3 separate regions of the Homo sapiens genome follow, and all the other regions are linked to region 2. The links are contacts of gene promoters, found by promoter capture Hi-C in blood cells and fetal thymus (Javierre and others, 2016). All regions are on one chromosome and are shown on one strand. Each heading gives the region's core, a stretch centred on a gene start or on the middle of the fragment in contact. The rest is flanking DNA. Distances are from core to core; before and after follow the strand shown.

Region 1 (3,714 bases), core at 768-3,267, 290 kb before region 2:
CATGGTGAACCCCTGTCTCTACTAAAAAAAATACAAAAAATTAGCTGGGCATGGTGGTGCACACCTGTAATCCCAGCTACTTGGGAGGCTGAGGCAGGAGATGCACTTGAACCCAGCAGGCAGAGGATGCAGTGAGCCGAGATCGCTCCACTGTGTACTCCAGCCTGGTGACAGAGCGAGACTCTGTCTCAAAAAAAAAAAGAAAAAAAGAAAGAAAAAGAAACAGCGAGATATGGCTCATAGTCCGTAGTCCAAATTATTAGCTATAGTCTGGTGTGGCAGATACTGTAGTAGAGGCCTGAATCCTAATGGAGAGAGAAAAGGCAGCCCTGGGGGATGTCCCAACCCCAGCTCATGCCCCTGGTTTGTAGCATTGGCTGGATTTCTGTGAGGTAAATACTCCAGGATGGTCAATTTCAAGCTACCAAGGTGAAGTCACTAAACATGGAATTGGGAAGAGATGCACACAATTGGCTGCCAGCTGGGATGTGTGGACCCAGCTGCTGCCACTTCCATCTGCCTCTACCCACCAGCCCACCAACCCTCTTCCAGCTGCTTCAGAAACACCACGTTCTTTCCCGTGAGAGGGCCTGCAGATCCCTCAGCCAGGAAAGCGGCCCCTGCCTCTGGCCTTCTTGCCCTTTTAACTCTCCATCCTTCAAGCCCCAGCTTGAGGGTCACTTTTTTTTTTTTTAAGTTTAAGTTCTGGGATACATGTGCAGGACGTGCAGGTTTGTTACGTAGGTAAACGTGTGCCGTGGTAGTTTGCCGCACAATAAACCCATCACTTAGGTATTAAGCCCCACATGCATTAGCTATTTATCCTGATGCTCTCCTTCCCCCTGCACCCCCAACAGGCACCAGTGTGTGTTGTTCCCCTCCCTGTATCCATGTGTTCTCATTGTTCAGCTCCCACTTATGAATGATAACATGCAATGTTTGGTTTTCTGTTCTTGTGTTAGTTTGCTGAGGATGATGGCTTCCAGCTTCATCTATATCCCTGCAAAGATCATGATCTCATTCCTTTTCATGGCTGCATAGTATTCCATGGTATATATACCACATTTTCTTTATCCAGTCTATCATTGATGGGCATTTGAGTTGATTCCATGTGTTTGCTATTGTGAACAGTGCTGCAATAAACATGCATGCATGTATCTTTATAATAGAATGATTTATATTCCTTTGGGTATATACCCAGTAAGGGGATTGCTGGGTTAAATGGTATTGCCGGTTTCAGGGTCACTTTCACATGAAGCCTTGCCTAACCCCCAGCCTAGGTTAGACATCTAACTGTGCTCATAGAATGGCACTCCTCTCCTTCCCAACCCTTCCTTATGTCCGATTTTAGCTACTTATGGGCTTGTGTGGTTAATTAGTATTTCTCTCCCTCTCATGACAGCAGAGCTTGGCAAGGTATCAGCAGTACCTAGAACAGTATCTGGCACAGAGCAGGTGTGCTCCAAATGTTTGTTGAATGCTGAAAGAACAAGAGGTCATCTGAGCTGGGCTCTAATGGATGAATAGGAGTCTGCAAGGTGGAAAAGGGAGGCAAGAGGAACAGCATGGGCAAAAGCATAGACATCTGTGTCTGTGGGATGTGTTCAGGAAATGCAGGAAGGCAGGTAGTCTGGTGTGGCTGGAACTTGAGCGTGTGGCAGGGAGAAGAGCTTGCAGATAAGGCAGGTGGACTGGGCCAGGTCGGGAGGAGTCAAGGTATCGAATGGTCCTGTCATTCTCACCAACCCCAATCCTAACCAAAAAAATAAAAATGATCTGGTAAGAACCAGAGGACTTGGGGAAAATCAAGGCTTGGGCATGGTGTATGTAGCTGAGCCATTCCCCTTTTTAGATGAGGAGGCTACAGGGTCCTTCTGTCCTGACACTGCATGGCCCCCCAGGCTTCCTGTTCTGCTCCCAGCCAGTGACTCTGGGTATGGAGACCCACCTAGCAAATGCAAAAAGATGCACCAGCTGGAGAACGAAATTAGTTATGACCCAACAGAAATCAAGCAACAAAAGAACAGTGTAGAATGCTGGCTAAGAGTGTGGGTCCGACAGCTGGACTGCCTGGGTTCGAATCCCAGCTTCACTCACTGTTGGTTTTGTGACCTTAGACAAGTTGCTTCACCTCTCTGATCTTGATTCCTCAGCTGTGACATGGGAATAGCAACAGTACTTAAATGCAATGGGGTGGTTGTGAGCATTAAATGAGCTAATAAGCATAAGCACTTAGCACAGTGTCGGGTCACAGAGGAGTACTCAGTAGATGTTGGCTGTTATTATTACTAATATCATTATCTACAGGAGCCAGGAGAGTGTAATGATTAAAGTAAATGTAGATATTGTTTCATTTTATCTTTATGCTAGGATAAGGGATGTGTTTTAAGCACGGACTATATATGGACACTCTCTCAACTCATCCTCCTCAGAGCTCTTTTTCCTCCAATTTTTCAGTTGAAGTAAAAAGCTCAGAGAAGTCGAATGACCTTCCCAAGATCAAGAAGCTAATTCACAACAGCCATAGCACCACACCCAGATCCCCTAGGGCCTCCTTAGAGGGTTTACTCCTGGGATATAGCATCATGGGACTGTGCCCTCTGTCTAATCCTGAGTAACTCCCCAACTTCAGCTCTTTCTTTGTCCCTTGGCAAATTACATCTCTCAGCCATGAAATTCTGAGAGTTTGCAACAGTCAGGGTTAGCATTGCTAGTTGCTATAACAAACAAACCCCTCATTTCAGTGGCTTAATGTGAAGGTTGATTTCTTACCTATGGCACAGTGCACTGTGGGCCAGTGGGGGTGGGGAGCGCCATGCAGTCATTCAGGGATCTAGGCTCCTGCCATCTTGACTCAGTCTCTCTAGAGCCTCAGAGTCCTCTCCTGACTCCTGAGCAACTGGCCATCAGGTGAGGAAAGGGAAGACATAGAAGGTACACTGCTCTAAACTACCTCAGTCCAGAGGTAACAAACCTCACGGCCATTCATATTTCATCAGCAAAAACTAGTCATGGGGCCCCAGCTAAATGCAGGGGACTGGGAAATGTGGTCTAATCATCTGCAAAGAGAGGAGATAACCAGACCCTGGTGACCAATGAGCTGTCTCTGTCACAGGGGTGGGCAGATTCTGTGATCCCCATCGGCCACAGGAGAGTGCAGAAGCTGGGACTTCTGGGTTACCCCCTCTGTCTGCAGCCTGGGCCCACACTCCCTGAGCTCTGTTCCTCCTCCCTCCACCCGGGAAGAGAACCAGTCCCTGCCAACCCTCCTCAGAGGGTGGGTGGTTGGTGAGATAATGATCTTACCATGCTTATTGCCTCTTGGAAGGCAGGTGCTGGAGAAAAACCAAGTCCGCTTTGATTTTTCTCCCTGTTCCCTTCACATTCCTTCCCAGGATAAATTTAGCCAGCCCTCACTTTGAACGGCAGTGCCCAGGATACGACTTTTTGTTCTCCAAGTTGATGTCACTGTCAGAGCCGTTTTCATGGTTGCAGCCTTTGGCCAGCAGTAAAGATTTCCGGATGACAGGCCCAGCCTCTGCCCTGCCCCAAACCTCTGTGATCCACCCTCTCACCCCTGCCCACTACCCATGGGCATGAGGAACCACATCTCTGAGACAAGGGCCTTAAATTCTCCAGTGATGTGAGACAGGACACAGTATTTAGAAGGCTTTGATATCTTGCACAAGGGCTGCGTTATCCTTAACAGCCTCC
Region 2 (3,754 bases), core at 846-3,345:
GGTATACAAACCCTGATTCGGTTCTCTCCTGAGGTCAGGGTCCTGTGCTCTGGGACTCTTCACTAGAACTTTATAGATGTTTCCAACAGTACCAAAGCCCTCACGTGTGGCCGCCCATTCTCGCACCTTGGTTCACTCATTCTGGCCCAGAATAAGCACCTGCCTGTCTTCCCAGCCTGTGGGCCCCTTGGTCTTTCTCTCTCCTAGTCTTTACTAACTGTTGCCTTAGCCCTTGGTTAAAGACTTAGGCAGAAAATACATTTTCTTCAGGCAATCTGACAGCTGGAGCCAATGGGAAATGGGTAGCATGTCAGAGGAGCCTGATTCCTGGGCTGGGCAGGGCTGTGTGGTAGGGTGAGAGCAACGGCCACAACGAACAGCAGAAGGGGGACTCTTATTTTTAACAGCTGTGCTTTGGGGCACAAGGCAGAAAATGTTTCTTTCTACCTTCTCCCAGGGGCAGGGACAAACAGCAGTGACTCTGTGGGTGACTGAAGATGAAGTAATTGCTGGGTTCTGATTAGGAATAGAGGAAGATTGCCTTCTGCCCACGCGCCAGCCTCCGAGTGGCTGAAGGTGCTGGAGGCAGAGGATAAGAAGGGAGGTGGCCCCTGTTGGCTCCGATAAGCAGGTGAGCTGCTGCTTTCTCCTTCATAGGGCTTCCCAGCCCACTGTGGGTGGTTAGCCTAAGTCTGGTTCAGAGATGCCAGCTGGGCACTCTGGCAATGCTAGAGCACTAAGCAGAGAAGAGGCAGTGTTGGCTCTGGTTAGCCAGGGCATACAGGCTCTCCTCGTCCTGTCCTCCGCAGTGGCCACAGGCACCCAGCTGTTCCACTCTCTCTGAAGGCCGCCAGGCAGTCTCTCCGCAAAACCTCCATAGAGACTATCTTCAGTTTCAGGTCCTCTCCTCCGGGCTGGGTCCCAGGAAGACACCTTGGGCTGAGTTCAGGGTGACATTGGGCTCCGGCTGCAGGAAACGGGCCCTCCTTGCCAAGAGACCACCTTTCAGTCTCTGCTTCACAGGTTTGCCTTCAACTTTGCCAGCGAGTTCCCCTCTGACATGCACCACCTTGAAACACCTTCTTCAAGGGGCATGGAGAATGGGGCAGCTTGGGTCCCCAATCCTGAGCTCCTTCTCCAGCCTCCGGCCGTCACGCCTCCCTCCCTCTCCCCTAATTCCCAGTCAAGCCAAGGAAAGGCTGCACAGAAGGCCAGAGAATCACAAAGGGGAGTAGGGGTCATTTTTTCACCCATCTCGGATCACAGGGAGAAGCAAGTTGGGCAAATGACTGGAGAAAAAACAAAGGCAAGCCGAGTGCTGGGGAGAGATGTTCCCCTGAAGTGAGACGGGGCTGGACCGTAGGAGAAAGGGGAGAGGGAGGGCTGGCGGGGGCAACTGACAGCTGACAGCAGAGGCGCCGAGGCGGAGGCTGGAGGAACCAGGTGCGAATCTCGTGCTTCTCAGGGGGGAAAAGAAAAGGGGGGGGACACCTGCTCACAATGGATTTTCTCATCTGCTCTGAGGTTTTGGCACCCCCCAGGCTGGTATTCTCAGTATGGTATGGTCCAAATAATTAGCAGCACCGCCAGCTCCCAGGGCAGGCTTTGGGGGTCTGCACCAGCAGCAAAACAATAAACAGTGATGCCTGATGCTGCAGCCAAAGTTGCCGGGAAATAAGTGCGGGAATCGTCAGAGCTTGGAGAGGGATGGAGGAACCGAGAGAGAGGAGCGGAGGCAGCGGGGAGGGGGAAGGGAGGACAAAGGGTGGATGAATAATGCTTTTGCAAAGGGGAGAAAGCAACACGCAGCAGGAGGAGGAAATTTGCAAAGAGAAAAAAATTCATTTGGAGAAGGGCTGCCCCCTCACCTTGAGGTCTGCTCCAGAGATCTCCGTCTATCTCTCTCTCTCTCTCTCAATCTCTCAATCTCTCTGCTCACTCTTCTCTCTTCTCTTTCCGCTCCTTCAATTGGGAAGGGGATGGGGGTGGGTGGGGGGAGGGTAGTTGGGGGCTCAAGACTGGGGCTGCAAAGCTGGCCAGCTGCTGGGGGGGCAGAGGTTGTCTCTCGTTCTGTACCTCGGTCTGTGGGTGAATGTGGCTGTGTGTTGTGGAACTGCATCATAACACTGTGAGTCATCCATCCCCCCCACCCCCCCTCACCTCCCACGTCAGAGCAGGGCTGGGAGACACAGGAGGCGGGTCGGAAGGAAGGGAGGGGGTAGGCATCAAGGGACGGGGCTAGAGGAGTGGGGGCCGAGGGACAAGGCGGCGATGGTGGGCAAGGGGAGAGGCAGGTTGTTAAGGAGGAAGGCAGTGGGGCCAAGGAGATACGAAGAACCTGGGGGAAGGACAGGGCTGGGCAAGGATGCAGTGAGGGTGGCAGGGCTGGAGGAAAGGAGGTGGCAAGGCTGGTGAAGGAAGAGATGGATGCAGAGTGAGGGAGCACACACACATTTAAGATGATACACTTTCCCATTTCAGCTTGGACACCAGCCCTGAAGCAGGGAAAAGACAGATGTACTAATTGTCATGGATGGCAAACTGTGCCCCCAAACTTGTACCAAGCCTCAAAGCCTTGGTTTAATACTCCTGAAGGAGTAATAGACCCAATGTGACATTTTGCATGCAGGAACCCCTTAACAGCTACCTCCATATTATGCGTGCTTCATGAATGGAGACACCTACGTTATATGAAGTTCTCTATTGGGCTGTAAACTTCCTGAGACAGGCCTTCTGGGAAATTACTCTCTACATCCCAGGACTGCAATGTCCAGTGCAGACCCGTGCATTTAGATGTTTCCAAAATAGCAGTTGTTTCCGCGGCATTATGTTCTGCTGGCCTAGAGGTCTTAGTTCCAGAGGGAGGAATGCTGCCACCAAGAGACACAACAATGATTCCATTAAACTGGAAGTTAAGATTGCCACCTGGCCACTTTGGGCTCTTCTTACTTTTAAGCCAACTTGCTAAGAAGGGAGTTACAGTGTTTGACCCAGACTATCAAGATGAAATCAGTCTACTACTCCACAATGGCGGTAAGGAAGTATGCGTGGAATACAGGAGATCACGTAGGGCGTCTCTTAATATTACCATGCCCTGTGATTAAGGTCAATGGGAAACTGCAACAGCCCAATCCAGGCAGGATGACAAATGGCCCAGACCCTTCAGGAATGAAGGTTTGGGTCACTCCACCAGGTAAAAAAAACATAATCTGCTGAGGTGCTTGCTGAAGGCAAACGGAATTCAGAATGGGTAGTCAAAGAAGGTAGTCATCAATACGAACTATGACCATGTGACCAGCTGCAGAAAATGAGGACTGTAATTGTCATGAGTATTTCCTCCTCCTTTTGTTAGGAACATGTTTGTGCATATATACACTTGTATTAAGAAAATATCTTCATTTTATTTCCTTTCTTTTGCCTTTATCATGTGACATAAGACTTACTGACTTGATATCAGCACTTAAGTGTTGTTAACTCTATGTAATAGCATTTGGGTTGGGGATTGGTGCGTTTCCGGTTGTACAAAGGATAGCTGTATTATGTTAAGCGTAATTATGACCTTATTATTGTCTTTATTTGAAGATCATGTATGATTTCAGGAGACGTGTATGGGTTCAAGTTGACAAGGGGTGGACTGGTGATGGTTAATATTGTCAACTAGATTGGATTGAAAGATGCAAAGTATTGTTCCTGGGTGTGTCTGTGAGGGTATTGCCAAAGGCGATTAACATTTGAGTCAATGGACTAGGAAAGG
Region 3 (4,253 bases), core at 1,716-4,215, 270 kb before region 2:
GTCACACCCACAAATGGACAAGAACCTGACTTCTGGCCGACACCACGAGTGTGTGTTTTGAAGGTGGGAGAAAGCACGTGTGAGAAGCCTGGGGCAGTCACCAGCCCTTCATCTTAACAGGTGGGTGGTTTTTCCTTCTGAAAGTTCAGGTTACAGTTTGCCGGGTGCGGTGGCTCACGCCTGTAATCCCAGCACTTTGGGAGGCCGGGGCGGGCGAATCACAAGGTTAGGAGTTTGAGACCAGCCTGGCAAATATGGTGAAACCCCATCTCTACTAAAAATACAAAGATTAGCCAGGCGTGGTGGCATGTGCCTGTAGTCCCAGCTACTCAGGAGGCTGAGGCAGAAGAATTGCTTGAACCCGGGAGGCGGAGTTTGTGGTGAGCCGAGATCGCGCCACTGCACTCCAGCCTGGGCAACAGAGCGAGACTCCGTCTCAAAACAAAACAAAAAACAAACAAAAAAAAAAACAAAAACAACAACAACAAAAAAAAATCAAACAAAAAAGAGAAAGTTCCAGGTTACAGTTCTGAGTCCAAGTGATATCTTACCGGAGATGAGCTGTATCAGCTAAAGAGGGAAGGCTGTGGTCCTGGCCTCATGAGTGCAAATAAAAGCGGGGGGAGGGGAGTGTAGGAAAAAGGAAAAAAGGGAAAGACGCATGAGGAGGGAAGGGAGAGACTTACCCAGATGAAGAGCAGAAACTGTTCCCAGCAGGAGAAAGGGCAGGAGCAAGAGGCATTGCATATCTACTGTCTTTTAGCGAGGACACTACTCCACCGTCCTTCTTGGGGCTGTCTTTGTGTGTCTAGTATAGCCCCTGGCACATAGTATAGAGGGAATATTTGTTTAATTGTTTGATTAAAGAGCAAACAAGATTGCTTTCTCCTCTTGCCATGAACAGACCCTGAGCTGGAGAGTCTAGAAAAGGAATGGTGGGAGGGATAACTCAGGTACCAAATTTCATTTGTCTTCCAGTCTCCGTTGCTGCTCTCCAGTATCACCCTTAGCCCAGACTCCTGCCCCTGCGGGGACAGGTCTGCTTAGCTATGATGTTCCTAAGGACAGGCCTCCTACGTGTTTGCCCTATGAGGTGCTGCTTCTTCCCAGGGCCTACACTGGTCCTGCCTGGGCAGCCAGAAAAGAACTCACCTTCCAAGAGTCTGAGACCTCCACTCTCAGTGCCTCTGGCTTCAGGGGCCAGAAGCAGCCTTTATACTGGGTTTTTGGGGAAGTGGGAAGAGGCCAGAATGATTGCTCCAGGACAGAGTGGGGGACAAAGGAGCTGATAATGAAGTTTGCTCAGTCTTCTCAACCCTGTGCCCTGCTCTCTGCTGGGACTGCAGGGACCTGCCTCCTGGGGCCTACTGCCTTGTTTGGGTACCCCACACCCTGGTTTGCTTCAGAAGGCCCTAGATGTTATGTCCATTGTCCAGGCATAATTATTATTTATGCCCCCTAAAATGCCCCAGTCTGAACAACACGCCTTAACTCCAGGAGTAGCCTCCTGCTGGTGGAATCCCAGAGAGTGAAGTGGAGATCCCAGGGAGCTGGTGGGAGACAATGGGGGGAAGAAACAAGAGGGGAAAGGGAGGTTCAGTGCTCCCAAGCTCTCACCCATCCTAGGGGCATAGTGTGCAACACACCCCTCACCCTCATCTCCGCATCATCTCCACCAGGTACCACCCCTACTTCACAGAGGCAAAATGTGAGATTCAGAGAAAGAGAGAAGGCAACTTGCCAAGGTTCCATGGGAAGTGGAAGAACTGGAATTTCTAAGTCTTTTTGACTCCAAAACCTTCTCTCTTTCTTTCCTCTCTCTCTTTTTTCTCTCCCTTCCTCTTTCTCATCTTTTTTTTTTTTCTTTTTGAGACGGAGTCTTGCTCTGTCGCCCAGGCTGGAGTGCAATGGCAAGATTTTGGCTCACTGCAAGCTCCACCTCCCGGGTTCAAGCGCTTCTCCTGCCTCAGCCTCCCAAGTAGCTGGCTAATTTTTTGTATTTTTAGTAGAGATGGGGTTTCACTATGCTGGCCAGGCTGGTCTTGAACTCCTGACCTCGTGATCCACCCACTTCGGCCTCCCAAAATGCTGGGATTACAGGCATGAGCCACTGTGCCTGTCCTCATCTTTTTTTTTTTTAAGAGACAAAATCTTGCTCTGTCACCCAGGCTGGAGTGCAGTGCTGCGATGATAGTTCACTGTAACCCTGAATTCCTGGGCTCAAGTAATCCTCCTGCCACAGCCTCCTGAGTCACAGGGATTACAGGCACAAGCTTTCTCATCTTTAATGTGTGAAAAATCTACATCCTTTCTTCTGTGCTGTGGATCTAGATCAAGGTTCCTCAACTTTGTGCTATTAATATGTGAGGTCAAATAACTCTTTATTGTGGAGGGGCTGTCCTGGGCGTTGTAGAAAGTTTAATGGTCCCTCTGGTCTCTACTCACCAGATGTCAGTAGCCCCTCTCCCCACCCCCGCAGATGATCAAAAATGTCTCCACATGTTTCCAAATGTCCTCTGGGGAGAAAAATGGCCCCAGTTGAGGATCTCTGATCTAGGATATGCCACCTTGCCCAACCTCAAGGCATAGCTTCAGGGCTGGCAAACAGGCAGCATGAAAAGCTCCATACAGAGTCTCTCCAGCACTCTGTAGATCATCCTCTCCAACCAACACTCCCCTCCTCACCTCCCATCTCCCACCAGTCTTCTGTCACCCCAGGGTCTGGACTAGAATCAGGCAGGGGAGGCTCTCAACTCAGACACACTAAGAAATTAAGGGGACACTAAGAAATTTACTATTCAAGATAAATAACATTTTAATGCAACATTTCTTAAAAATTGAAATTAATGCAAAACAAAACATCAAAATTTTAACTGACCAAGCTCTAGACAAAATTTGCTGCACTTTAAAGAGAGGCCAGCATGTCTCAAGCCTTGAATTTGCCAGATGTCTCTGCCAAGAGCTAGTGGACTTGTCAGGGTGAACTCAGAGGCATCCTTGTGGGATGCTTCTCAGAACTATGCCTGGCACATGAGTGGAGGGTGACCCTTGTCAATTAAAATGTGCAGATTGGTAGGACCGGGCACGGTGGCTCATGCCTGTAATTCCAGCACTTTGGGAGGCATGTGCGGGTGGATCACCTGAGGTCAGGTATTTGAGACCAGCCTGCCCAACACAGTGAAACCCTGTCTCTACTAAAAATACAAAAATTAGCCGGGCGTGGTGGTGGGCACCTGTAATCCCAGCTACTCAGGAGACTGAGGTGGAAGAATAACTTGAACCCGGGAGGCAGATGCTGCTGTGAGCAGAGATCACGCCACGGCACTCCAGCCTGGGCGACGGAGCGAGACTCTGTCTCAAAAAAAAAAAAAAAAAAAAGTACAGATTTATTCCCCATATTCCACCCCAGCCCTCCATGGCTCAGGGAGCAGGGACAGGCAGCCCAGAGGGTGAGAAGACCTAAATTCCTTCCTCTTCTCTGCTCTTCCAAAAGACCCACAAATGGAGAAGTAACTGAGAGGCCATTTCTGAGTCTGATTGCAGAGTAACGGCCTTGATCACTATCTCCGTAGCCCAACGGACCAAACCCTCCACTTATCTACTTGACTGTAGGAGGACTGGCCAGGTCCAGGACCTAAAAACCTGGTCACTGGATTTCAAGCTTGAGACCTCCCTAGTGGTGGAGGGTGGAGGCATAGACCCCCATTTGCCATTATTCTTCCTCATTCATTGGCCCAAGCCAGGGGTACCATTTCACTTCGTGGCTGGGATGACCAATAAGGTTGGCTACTCTCAGGAACCAATACTACCATGAGCCTCACACTCATTCATTGTTTCTTTTTCTTTTCTTTTTTCTTTTTTTTTTTTTTTTTTTTTGAGACAGAATCTTGCTCCGTCACCTAGGCTGGAGTGCAATGGCATGATCTCGGCTCACTACAACCTCCGCCTCCCAGGTTCAAGCAATTCTCCGGCCTCAGCCTCCCGAGTAGCTGGGATTAGAGGCACCTGCAATCATGCCCAGATAATTTTTTTATTTTTGTAGAGACGGGGTTTCACTATATTGGCCAGGCTGGTCTTGAACTCCTGACCTCAGGTGATCTACCCACCTTGGCCTCCCAAAGTGCTGGGACTACAGGTGGGAGCCACCATGCCCGGCCTTGTTGTTTCATTTTACAGATGGAGAAATGACATCTCAGAGACTTTAAACAAGTTGCCCAAGGTCACAAGCAAGTAGAGACAGGCCTGAACCATAG

Evidence for each region. Contacts are between HindIII fragments. The CHiCAGO score rates a contact against its expected background, and 5 or more counts as called.
Region 1: a contact is called between a fragment that was not itself captured here and the fragment with the promoter of YPEL4 in region 2, in 5 of 17 cell types (M1 macrophages, activated CD4 T cells, M0 macrophages and 2 more). The highest score is 7.4, in M1 macrophages.
Region 3: a fragment that was not itself captured here is called in contact with the fragment with the promoter of YPEL4 in region 2 in 1 of 17 cell types (activated CD4 T cells); the score reaches 6.5 in activated CD4 T cells.

Annotation. Positions count from the first base shown.
Region 1 is chr11:57,360,606-57,364,319 of GRCh38, forward strand. The region is part of intron 8 of P2RX3 (purinergic receptor P2X 3); the gene reads left to right. Among named protein-coding and RNA genes, the nearest start is that of PRG3, 19 kb to the right of the region's middle. The HindIII fragment of the contact is 9,478 bases long and covers 1-3,714 here.
Region 2 is chr11:57,647,817-57,651,570 of GRCh38, forward strand. YPEL4 (yippee like 4) reads right to left here and starts at 2,096. Exons shown (of 5, transcript NM_145008.3): 1 at 1,869-2,096. MIR130AHG (MIR130A host gene) reads left to right here. Exons shown (of 2, transcript NR_186232.1): 2 at 2,482-3,754. RefSeq lists an enhancer at 468-607. The HindIII fragment of the contact is 14,007 bases long and covers 1-3,754 here.
Region 3 is chr11:57,379,962-57,384,214 of GRCh38, forward strand. PRG3 (proteoglycan 3, pro eosinophil major basic protein 2) reads right to left here and starts at 1,189. Exons shown (of 6, transcript NM_006093.4): 1 at 1,153-1,189; 2 at 687-820. The coding sequence starts at 747. RefSeq lists an enhancer at 1-577. The HindIII fragment of the contact is 1,388 bases long and covers 2,272-3,659 here.